Linked DNA regions of Homo sapiens: region 1 is linked to region 2. The links are contacts of gene promoters, found by promoter capture Hi-C in blood cells and fetal thymus (Javierre and others, 2016). All regions are on one chromosome and are shown on one strand. The core of a region is centred on a gene start or on the middle of the fragment in contact, and the rest is flanking DNA. Distances in the headings are between cores, read along the strand shown. Region 1 has its middle 3.8 kb from the start of NMNAT3. Region 2 holds the start of CEP70 (centrosomal protein 70).

Region 1 (6,400 bases), core at 642-3,141, 1.1 Mb after region 2:
CTGAAGCATACACAGTTGTGTGGGGAGAAGGAAGGGAGGGCTGCTTAAGAAAGAGAAGACAGAATTAGGGCTTGCCAGTGAACATTTATTTGGAATGAGAAAATAAATCTTAACAGAATCCTGGGGTCTTAGAGATTGGGGTCCCTATCCCCTAAAACCTTCTTAGGAAATTTAGGTCCCAAATTTGCTTCCCTAACGCAGTCTGGCTTCCTCTGCCCACCCAGAACTCTCCATAAGCCCCCAGGGCTCATGGGAGCCTTGCAGAGAGAGGCCTTGAAGGACAAGATTCACTAGATTCTGCCAATACAGTTTCCTAATGGAGTGAATTGGAGTGTGCGAAAAAGAGAGACATCAAGGATGATGTCAAGGTTTTTTGATTGCTGTACACTTAATTTCCAGCGTTTCCTAGACACAGGAACACAACCTCATCTTAGTATGGAGAGTGTTTTATAAGCCTGTCCACATCACCAGAGCCTCACGGTGCACCCATGAAGTTGGCTGGACGGGTGCACTGTCCACAGTTTTAGGAGGCCCATAAATTTGTCCCTTGTGTATTAGCACCGGGGGCATGCAACTTGCACCCAATAAGTACCCAGGTAAATGGTACTTCCCCACTCAGTCTGAAGACACAGTGTCCGTGCCCTCTCGGATCCCTTTTCTCTTACCTGTGGTGTAAAATGTGGCTCCAGAAGGTGATCTTGGACAAGTCTCTTTACTTCCCAAGCCTCACTTTCCTTTCGTATAATGGGAGGTAACAACCCCTACCGCACTGAGTTTTGGGGAGGATTAAGTGGCTTAACATCTTTGGATATTCTTTAATTGATAAGTCAGCTTATTTCCCAGCAGGGTGGGAGGCTCATGAGAAAGCTTAGGGATTTCTGAGAATCTTGTGTAGCATGTAGTACCACAGGTTGATTAGAGGCCTTCGATTAAAATCGTGGGCTGAAGAGTCATTCTGGGTCAGGGCCCTAGGCCAGGGAGGGAGAAGCTGCACACAGAGAGCAGAGAAGAGGCTGGGCAATGACTTCCTCATGCAAGGGAAGCTTTCTCTGCCTGAGGTAGTGAAGACTAAAGCTTGGTCTAGGAGGAAGCCTGGTTTCCTAGGCAAGAAAAAAGGAATGAATTAATGGCATTCACAGCAACTGGATGAGATTGGAGAGTGTTATTCTAAGTGAAGTAACTCGGGAATGGAAAACCAAACATGGTATATTCTCATAAGTGGGAGCTATGCTATGAGGATGCAAAGACATAAGAATGACACAGTGGACTTTGGGGACTCAGAGGGGAAGAATGGGAAGGGAGTGAGAGATAAAAGACTACAAATTGGGTTCAGTGTATACTGCTCGGGTGATGGGTATACCAAAATCTTACAAATCTCCTCTAAGGAACTTACTCATGTAACCAAATACCACCAGTTCCCTAATAACCTATGGAAATAAAAATATTTTTTTAAAAAAGTAGCGTCCCCTTGTGCTGGAAGGTAAGAACCTCATATAATAGCCAAGCTTTACCTAACCTAAGCGGTGAAGACGCAATGGCTGAGAAATCCATTTTGGAGAGGCAACTACCTCCTAATTTTTTAGAAGGAGGAATACCTAAATGCAAGTCTTGTATTTGCTTAAGCTCACAAAAAGACTACTGGATTATGGGTATAATGGGAATAATATTTTCAGATCTCTCCTTTATTGGTAAGTTTCATTTCTCCTGGATCCTATCTGCCATTATGGCTCAAGGAAGGTGGCCACCTAATGCCACCTCAGGAAGGAGGAAGATTTTACATAGAGGATGTCTCAGCTTGAGTGCCTCAGAACCAGATCCTGAGGTAAGAATTAATGCAAGTAGTTATTTGAGAGGTACATGGAACACCAGCAGAGTAATGAAGAAGCAATACAGGGAAGAAAAGGGGAGCTCAATAAAAGATTAAGCCAGCTACTATAATAGATGTTTAGGGCTTAATCCTAGGGGAAAACCCTAGAAAACTGTGTGAAGAGCATGCCTTGGAATCATCCCACCCAAGGCTGCAGGAGACAGGTCTCTACAGGGAAAAAAGCTGGAACTGACCACTTAGCTCATATTTTTGAACATTTAAAACATTATTTCTAGGCATAAAAATGTCATTACTAAAATGAGATCTGGCTACAGTATAACACTATTCTGCAGTTTCCTTCTATCACTTAACAGTGTGCTGATGAAGTTTCAGGAGGAACTCTTTGGGCAGTAAGCAATGTGCAGATGGCTGAGAGTCACAGTCCTGGGATGGACCTGAGGCCATTCTGGAAAGCTTGCTTGTGGATGGATTGTGATGAGGCCGTAGACTGGGGCAGCCTCTGTATTTGGATGAACCTATTCTAACCTTGACTTCTGACCTGTCGCTGAGGAAAAGCAAGCTTTGAGTGGGTAAAAGTAAAATGTAAAAGGGAGACTGGTGGACTTTTCAAATGACCAAAGAGGGCAAACTTTTCAGTCACTGCAACTACTTCAGCAGATGGGCATTTTCTTTTCTTTTCTTTGAGATGAAATTTCACTTTTGTAGCCCAGGCTGGAGGGCAGTGGCGTGCAACCTCCGCCTCCCAGGTTCAAGTGATTTTCCTGCCTCAGCTTCCCAAGTAGCTGGGATTACAAGCGCTCGCCACCACGCCCAGCTAATGTTTGTATTTTTAGAAGAGACAAGGTTTCACCATGTTGGCCAGGCTGGTCCTGACCTCAGGTGATCCACCCGCCTTGGCCTCCTAAAGTGCTGGGATTACAGGCATGAGCCACCGTGCCCGGCCAGGTGTTTTCTTACAAACAGTGAACAGATAGTGCTCATGCCAGATCTTTCTTATACAAGCATCAAAGCAGGTCCTCACTAGAAAACCTTCACTTTGTCAATTTGGCTTCATGGCTATACTTACTATTGAGCTAAAATTATCCTTTTAAAACGTGAATCAGTTTATAACACTCCTCTGCTCAAAAGTTTCCAGTGGCTTCCACCACAATTAGGGTAAAATCTCAAGTCCTCCCCCTGGTGTGCAAGGCCCTCAAGGATCTGCCCTGACAAGTGCTCCAGCTGTCAGCCATTCTCATCTCTGGTTTCCTTGACTCTGTTGCTGTTCCTTGGACACACTGGGCCTATTTGCACCTAGAACCATGGTGCTGCTGTCCTCATTGACCTAAATAACACACCGCCCACTCTTAGGATAACTTTCCCAATTCATTAGCTTTCTAGTAGACAGCTCCACTTAACAAACAAAAATACTCCCATACAACCCCTTTTGTAGTACTTACTACCTATCATTGGAGGATATTTTGCTCATTATCTGTCTCCCTCGCAGAAGTGTAGGGCCCAAGAGTGGCTGAATCTTTATACATTTTGTTCCCTGATATGTCCTCACACCCACAACAGTGCCTAGCACCTGATATTCAATAAATATCTGTTGAATGAATGAATGCATTGAATTGAGCAAATGAAAAATATATTCAGTACACATACAGATAAAAATATTCTAGAATGCAGACTTTCAACTAATCTTGGTTAGGTTCCTCTCAAACTGAAAAAAATTGTTAGAACACAGAAAAATAAAATGAAATGGCTGAGCTGTATTATGTAATCTGATTTATAATTACAGGTTGAGTATTAGACTGAGAACTTTTGCTTTTTTATATTTCACCCAATGTCTATGTTAAATGTTTAAGCAAAGGTTAGCTTGAGAGGCTACATACTCATTTAAAAGTAGTAAAAAGAAACAAGGTTCTCCTAGTCACTTTAATAATTCAGAATAGTATTCTGTGGCTTCTGTTGGCATTTGAGACCCCAAGATGGCAACTGGTTACCTGAAAATAAAGGCCTTGATCAAATATTTAACATCTCACTTATTTTCATTTTCTGCATATTTTGTATTCCTGATTCTCACTTTTTTTTTACCCATTCTGCAGTCACACAATTCACACACTGAAGTTAATAGAAATGTTCCATGGATTATTAAATGCAGCTAAGCAATGAGTTTTTGCTAGAAAATAAGGCCAAACTGGGGCCACTTTGCTATTCTAACAAAGTAATTTTTCCTTGAAGGTACAGACTATGAATTTACAGAAGCCTCTACCCTTTATTCTGAAGTTTTGTAAGGCAAATACATTGCTGCAGGAGAGAATTTAAAGTGGAAAACAGATTCCCCCTGAAAACATGTTTTATGGTGGCACAATTAAGAAGTCTTATAATCAAGAACAGTTGAAAGCACAGAATTATAAGTGGACCTTTATAATTATGGCAAGAAGACACTAAATAGTGCCTGTTTGCTAATGAAAACATTGCACTCTGGTGCCAAAAGCAGTGGAGTGGGTTTTGGTTGGTGCTTACCTGGGTTAATTGCCCAAGGAGTGCTCCAGTAGCAGCATCCCAGTGCTGTCAGCTGCCGTTCCTAATGGAGCTTTTATATTTTACCCCTATTGCTAAAACCCTAATCCAGGCTTTGATGTCCATTTGGGCCTACTTGGTACAAAGAGGGCCTTCTGGAGGTGGTCAAAGTCATAATGGAAAAGCCTTTAGGAATAACCCATCCTTTTGTGATCAGTAGAGAGTACCCAGAGAGGTTAGAGGATTTTCTCGAGATCACGCCTGACCAGTGGTGGGTTTGGAGTATTAGTCAGGACTTTTTTGTTAGAAGCAATTGAAACAGTCTCTGTGACCCAGTAGATGGGAGTTTATTGGCAGGATTGGGCCTTCAGAACTTACAGAAAGTTTGGAGATCCAGGCTTAGAAACGGATAGGGAGAAAGTAGCTCTGAAAAGCTAGAAAGTGAAAACCCTGGGAATAATCTCTTAGTAGAAATGGTCTGGTCAGGAAGCTGCTGCAGAGATAGATGATTAAACTCTAGACACTTTCTATGCCCTTGTTTCACTTGCACACTAGCCAAAGTCTTGGGAGAGGCCCTCAGATTGGCCAACATTAGTATACACTCTCCTATTTGTCCTGGGAAAGGTGTTGGCAAACTCCTTCAACTGCAGAAGTTGAAAGGAAAGCATCTGAATTTACTCTCCTACTAAGACTCTCATAGTGGAGAGGGGCAATTTCCCAAACGGAAACCCAAAGAATGCTGTTAGGAGGAAGGCAGGGATGCAGAGAAGCTAGAGTACAATGAAGCCCCAATTCAGTTTAGAGCGGTAGACTCCTGTGCAGCTAGAGATGGCCACAAGAAGCAAACAGGAGTCCACCTGGGATTAGTAGGAAGATTTTGCTTTGCAAGCTTTCTGTCCCTCTCCTCCTTTTTCCTTTTGGCTTAGAATGTGGGTATAAGCCCAGAGGCCAAGGAGCCATTATGAATCTTAGAAGTGAACTCCAAGCGTGAACTCCAAAGCCACCTACTAAAGATGGCTGAATGAATGAATAGGAGTCTGACATGTTAAATACACCGTGGAGCTGCTGTACCAGCTCTGAACTGCCTACTTCCAGCCTTCTTATTTTATAAGAAAATTAAAAAACCTATCTGGCCACACCACTGTAGTTATCAGTAACTTTCAGTCTAGCACAGTCTGATAATACAAATTAGTCCTAGGATTCTGGTCTCTCAATCTCCTATGCAGCACCATTCCTGTTCTGCTTACAAAGACATGGTTCCTGCCTTCAAGGAGCTTATGGTTGAATTGAGGTTATATTAGTCTGGGTTCTTCAGGGAAACAGAACCAATAGGATGGATAGATAGATAGATGATAGATAGATAGATAGATAGACGAGGACATTTATTAAGGGAATTAGCTCACATAATTATGGAGGCTAAGAAATCCCACATCTGCCATCTGCAAGCTGGAGAGCCAGGAAAGCCCATGGTGTAATTCAGTCTGAGTCCAAAGACCTGAAAACCAGGGCAGCTGATGGTGTAACTTCAGGTTTGAAGCTGAAGGCCTGAAAACTGGGGCAGGCAGGAGAGATGCTAGTGTAAGTTTCTAAAGGTCCAAGAATCAGAAACTCTGATGTCTGAGGGCAGGAGAAGATGGATGTCCCAGCTCAAGAAGAGAGATAATTTGCCCTTCCTCTGGATTTTTGGTCTGTTCCAGCCCTCAGTAGATTAGAGGATACTCACCCACATTCACGAGGGTGATTTCTTTACTCAGTCTACTGATTCAAATGATAGTCTTTTCCAGAAACACCCTCACATATGCACCCAGAAATAATGTTTTACCAGCTATCTGGGCATCCCTTAGCCCAGTCAAGTTGACACATAAAATTAATCATCATAGAGATTAAAATCATACTCAAGCAACAAGAGAGCAAGAAAGTGTGAGGTATAATATATTCTGAACTGCAAGGAGCACACTACATCAAAGACAGAGTGCAAAGGAGGTCCTTGCCTAGGCCCTAATCGCTTCCTCTGGCCTCTGTGATTTGTCTGTTATTGCCATTCTCTTCTGTATCTTTACGTTCTCC
Region 2 (5,710 bases), core at 2,788-5,287:
ATGGAATATTCTATTTTCTCCTATATTCTTGAGAATCATGATTCTCAGTATGGAAAAAAGGAGTTACAGTTGTGATAGAGAAGTTGTTAAGTAAAAGCTCTGTAATCTCAATCTGAAGACTGGAAGTAGAATACATTAGGTATCTTTTAACATGTGTGTCTATAGACAGATACAGGTATCCTAGCTCTGTCTACTGAAATGCCTGAAACAGTGACTAACTCAGGATCTTTAGCATTCAGACTGTAACTGAAATATTATTTCCCTCTAAATGAAACCCGGGCATTTTAAAGAAATGGCTGATTTCATATCTGCGATAGGAATTGTTCAATATATTATATAACAAGGAAGCTATCAAAAACTAGGAGGCCAGGCTCACAGTGCAGCTTGGCCAACATGGTGATACCCCGTTTCTACTAAAAATACTAAAAAAAAAAAAAAAATAGCCGATCCTGGTGGTGTGTGCCTATAATCCCAGCTACTTAGGAGGCTGAGGCAGGAGAATCACTTGAACCCAGGAGACAGAGGTTGCAGACAGCTGAGATCGTGCCACTGCACTCCAGCCTGGACAACAGAATGAGACTCTATCTCATAAATAAATAATAAAAAAAAAACAGGGAAGTGATTACTACAAAACTATAAAACCCAGAAGAATGGTGACTAAATGGGAACACAGGAGTTTTGACTGGGATAGGGTAATGGAGGGGATCTGGCATACCTGAATGGTATGGTCCTGTAATAATTTATTAAGCTATACATTTGGTATGTGATTTATAACAAAAATTTCATTTTACGCTAAAAAGATTTTGTTAAATAACAAAAAATAGAAAAGTAAAGGAAATGCTAACCTAACCAAAATAAAGCTGGTACGGGTTGAACGTTCCTAATATGAATATTTGAAATCCAAAATGCTCCAAAATCCAAAACTTTTTGAGCACCAACTTGACACCACAAGTAGAAAATTCCACACCTGACCTTATGTGACAGGTCACAGTCACAACTTCATTTCATGCATAAAACTATTAAAAATGTATAAAATTAGCTTCAGGCTGTGTGTATAAGCTGTATATGAAACAATAAATGAATTTTGTGTTTAGAGTTACCCAACTCTAAACAAGATACCTCATGTATATACAAATATTCCAATTTTTTTTTTAATCTAAAAGTCCAAAACATAGTTCCAAGCATTGCAGGTAAGGGATACTCAACCTGCAGAGCTCTGTAGCCAGACTGCCTGGGTTCAAATCATGGATTCTGCCACACAGCCAGGAGAGTACAGTACTAATCTCTGTGTGCTTCAATTTCCTCATCATAAAATAAGGATAATAAAAGTACTCAGCTCACGAGTTAAAGATTAGAAGAGTTAATATAGAAAGAACATAAAGCATTGTCTGGCACACAGCAGGATGGAGACTGTGATTAGAGTTGGTGATCAGCTTTCTGTGTTATCTTAAGTAGGTATTTAACCTCTCTGAGCTTCAGCTTCTTTGCTGAGTTGTAAAATATCTACCTGATAGGATTATCAGGAAGTCAAAAGGAAATATATGTAATGAACCTAGTATAGTACTCAATAAATATTAGATTTTTTTCCATGGCCTCCCAACATCTGGAGTCATCCGTTACATTAGACATACCTCAGTCATAGCATATTACTCTTGCACTTTACACCTGGTCATTCAGGTTGATCTCAATGAAATGATCACCCAACGAGTCTCATGTCTGAAACTGGATCTTCATCTAGGTTTCAAAAAGATAAAAAGAACAAAATCTTGAAATGTTCAACCTCCTAGTAAGAATGGTCTTGTGTTACTCCCAGAGCAGGCATCCAAGGTACTGGTAATCACAGATAAAGCAGGCACAACTGAAATAACTGCTAATGGCCTTCCCAGCTCACCATCATATGCCTCTTCCCTTCTCTTCTCTCTCCTTCTTATCTTTCCTCTCCCTACCTTGTTAAGACATTTAGCTGGGTATCCAAATCTATCATCATCTATCATCAATTCTGACTTCTGGCTCCACAGGTAGGATATTCTCATTTGCAAGGATACTAAAATGAAGCATCCTCAGACAAACTACCACTGATCACAAAAGCAAACACAGGAACAAAACTACTCCTCATTTGCACCTGTGACCAAGCCCTCCTTTTCAGAGGACCATTCTGTGAAATAAACGGGCCAATAGTTTGCAGCAGCCTTTTCCCCACTACAGGCTGTGACAGGACAAAGGTCTGGAACTTTAAAGTCACAGGAAGAGACCAAATGCTTTCTAGGGCCAAAACAGAAGCTACAGCTTTAATTACTGTCATAACACACTTAAAATAAGATTGTTGGGGGTAGGAGTCGGGGGGTAGGAGTCGGAGGGTAGGAGTTGATTTGTACATGGCATAGTAAGCCAAGCATAGAAAAGCAAAAACATAATTGCATCTTCTGGCACTTTCTAGGTTTCCCGAGTCTTTCAGCCAAATTGCCCTTTATAGGTCTGAAGCCCCTTGTAACATGCTCCATATCTTAAAATTTAATTATTTTTTTCACCATTTGGGGTGGGGGAGGGGAGCTGACAATAAACCATGGCCAATAACTGTTCCTTCTCAACTGAATCACACCAAAATCTGTAAGCATCTTCAAAAGTATATACTTCAAATTACTGCAATAAATGAACATGTAACCCTTTCGAAGTCTCTATTCCTTATTAAATGCAAAAGCTCTATTCTAAAAATATTGCAACTTGCTGTTTAATGTTCCTAAGAAAGAGCTGAACTTACCCCAAATAGGAAAGAGTTAAAATGGAATGTCATCTCAACCAAATCATTCTGTCTCAGGAGAGGTGACATGAAGGGGCAGAACCTTGCTTTGAAGCAAAAGCTGTAGGGAAAACTCCAAGTCAGCCACCTCTTCCCCAAAAGGCGGGGCAGGGGAGGCCAGAGTCTACTTGGCAATATTTAAAGTACAAAACTCATGCAGAGGCTTGAAACCAATATGGGTAATGCCTGCACAGAGTTTAATATATTATACATATATTTTTGAGACAGAGTCTCGCTCCGTCACCCAGGCTGGAGTGCAGTGGCGCGATCTCGGCTCACAGCAACCTCCGCCTCCCGAGTTCAAGCGATTCTGCTGCCTCACCCGCCCGAGTAGCTGGGATTACAGGCGCACACCACCATGCCCAGCTAATTTTTGTATTTTTAGTAGAGACGTGGTTTCATCATGTTGGCCAGGGTGGTCTCGAACTCCTGACCTCAGGGGATCCGCCCACCTCGGCCTCCCAAAGTGCTGAGATTACAGGCGTAAGCCACTGCGCCCTGCCTGTTTAATATCATTGATTGAAAAACAAAGTGGCAGTAAAAAAGGAAACTCTGATTGGTCTCTCTGTTACAGGTGACTTAGCCTTCTGGCATTTTTCACCTTGAAAAACTCCTATTAGGCCCTGTATAAAGTCAGAGGTCTCCTGAATCCGGAATGAGGTTAATAAACTGGAGAAAGAGATACTCACCTGTGCTATTCGCCTAACCGCCCCCTTCTGCTCCGAGTCCTCACTCCCCAAACAACCTTCGCGGTTGTTTGACACAAAACTAGCGCTTCAGCCCGGGTCGATTTTGGGGGATGGAGTAATTACCTACAGCTTAAATCGAGTCTGTGCCCGACGTGATTCTAAGCTTTACTCTTACTGCCTCATTTAACCCTCACAACCACCTTGTAAGGCAAGAATTACCAGCTTTAGTATACAAATAAAGAATCGGAGGCGCTGAGACATTAAAGGAGAAGCCAAAGAACACAAAGCCTGGGGAGCTGGGACTGGAGGCAGTTTTGTCCGATCCCCAAACCCTTACGCAGGGATTTTTAATTGGCGCGACCCTGTCCCAGATGGCTCCTCCCCGACAAGGGTCAGTCTGACCACTTTTAGGCCCAGGTGAGGTCAAGTCCGGGGTACTCCGGGAAGGGGCTCACGCCGACGCCTCTGAGAGCCCCGAGAGCCACTCACCTTACTCAGTCGCCGGCCTCCCACCAGCAGCCAGCCGGGCCAGGTTAGGCTGGGATCAGCTACGTCAGGCCCCGCCTCCGCGACCGTTACCACCGCCGGGGGAGGGCGGCCAATCGAGCCCGAGCGCGTCGAGGGCCAGCCCCTCTTTGGCCTGCGAATGCCCCCAAACGATTCTCTCCAGCCTCTCCGGGAAGCTGGGTCCGCCCCGCTCCCTCCGGTTGGCTCACTACGGGGGGCGGGGCTTACCGCAAACGAAGGCGTCGGTGCGATGTGCTGGTCTCGGGCACGCTGGCGCTTCCAACGCACTCCTTGGGTGCCCTGTCACTTACATGGAGGCTTATTTGCCCGGAAGACGTCAGAAATACTTGTGGCCGTGGGTGAAAGTGAAGCCTGGGTTACCTGGCCACCAGAGACTGCCCTCTCTCTCGCCCCCTACCCCGCCGCGACTACGAGCCCTTGCTGGGGTACGGGTCAGCATGTTCTCGATGTTCCAGACCTGAATGACCACTGTAGCAGCTGACATTTGGAGGACCCCAATAAATATTTGTTGACGACAGTTCATCTTCCCATTCAGCATTTTCCACATCTCGACGAAGCGTCAGGCCCTACCTGAGGCTGTAGCTGTCCACCATTGTCATTGTATCTTATAGCCACATGGTGTCGCTGTTGACAACTTGTCTTTTCAAATCAGTCAAATGATGTAGGTCTGTGTTACAGTCAAATGTTGCAACAGACTGTGTTGCAGTCAAATGATGCAGGTCCCACAGTAGCCAACAGGGATGTCCCATCTAGGGCATCAGCCAAGGGTCTCTCATCAGGAGATCCAAGGGCTCTTGGAGCTCAATACTTTCAGACCCTTCTTAGCCTTCTTCCAGGCAGCTGGGACTACACTTAGGTTTGATCTCTGTGTTTGCCCCATGCAAACATGTCCCTACCCCAACCTACGCCTACCCACTGTGCTTTCCATACCTGGATATTCACTCTAACGACGGTTAGCAGATTGCATTTTCAGTTCTCAAAATGCAAATAGTCTCAGTGCTTCCCTTTTCCAAGATAATAGGGTGCCCTTGCATACTCTTCTGAGAATGGCTGCCCTAATTGTAGAGGCCAAACATCTTTGAGTCAGTTATTATTATTTTGGATGCACGTGATATAGAATCTGAGTTAAACTGTCTTCCTAAAAAATAAAGAAGTTGCTTATCTCGCATAACAGAAAGCTCAGAGGCAAGGGAGACTTTGATTAATTCAGTGGCTAAGCAAGTTAACAAGGACCCAGTTGCTATTAGTCTCTGCTTTGTTGTAAAAAAAAAAAAGGGTAGACTTCAAATTCATACTAACGTGATTTTCCAGATGTCTACTTGGAGAAATCAGGACCACATACTTTCTTTTTCATCTAAAACCTTTCCTTCTGGTTTTTTGAGCCAATAAGTTCACACAGGCACACACTCTTCCTCTTTACCAGTAACTGCCTGGGAAATGTACAGACAGCTTAAGCCTGGGTTCCAGAAGTGAAAAGGAGCTATGACAATTGGAATTGGCAATGGTGTCAGTGCTCTTTGAGTCACATGAGTTGCAAGGTGGAGACATGGCTATTTGAATAAAACTGGAGACCTGTAAAGGAGAAGAGGAAAATGGATGCTAGATGGATGATCACCAGTATCTTTCACAGTCTTCAAAGCACAAGAAGGCTGATTCCTCTCTATTTTCTAACTGAATTTTTTATGTGGTGAATGGA

Evidence for each region. Contacts are between HindIII fragments. The CHiCAGO score rates a contact against its expected background, and 5 or more counts as called.
Region 1: a fragment that was not itself captured here is called in contact with the fragment with the promoter of CEP70 in region 2 in 1 of 17 cell types (naive CD4 T cells); the score reaches 6.2 in naive CD4 T cells.

What each region holds. Positions count from the first base shown.
Region 1 is chr3:139,678,556-139,684,955 of GRCh38, forward strand. No RefSeq gene overlaps it. Among named protein-coding and RNA genes, the nearest start is that of NMNAT3, 3.8 kb to the left of the region's middle. The HindIII fragment of the contact is 776 bases long and covers 1,504-2,279 here.
Region 2 is chr3:138,590,223-138,595,932 of GRCh38, forward strand. It overlaps CEP70 (centrosomal protein 70), which reads right to left and starts at 4,038. Exons shown (of 18, transcript NM_024491.4): 1 at 3,976-4,038; 2 at 1,632-1,734. RefSeq lists an enhancer at 4,243-4,302. The HindIII fragment of the contact is 6,508 bases long and covers 3,648-5,710 here.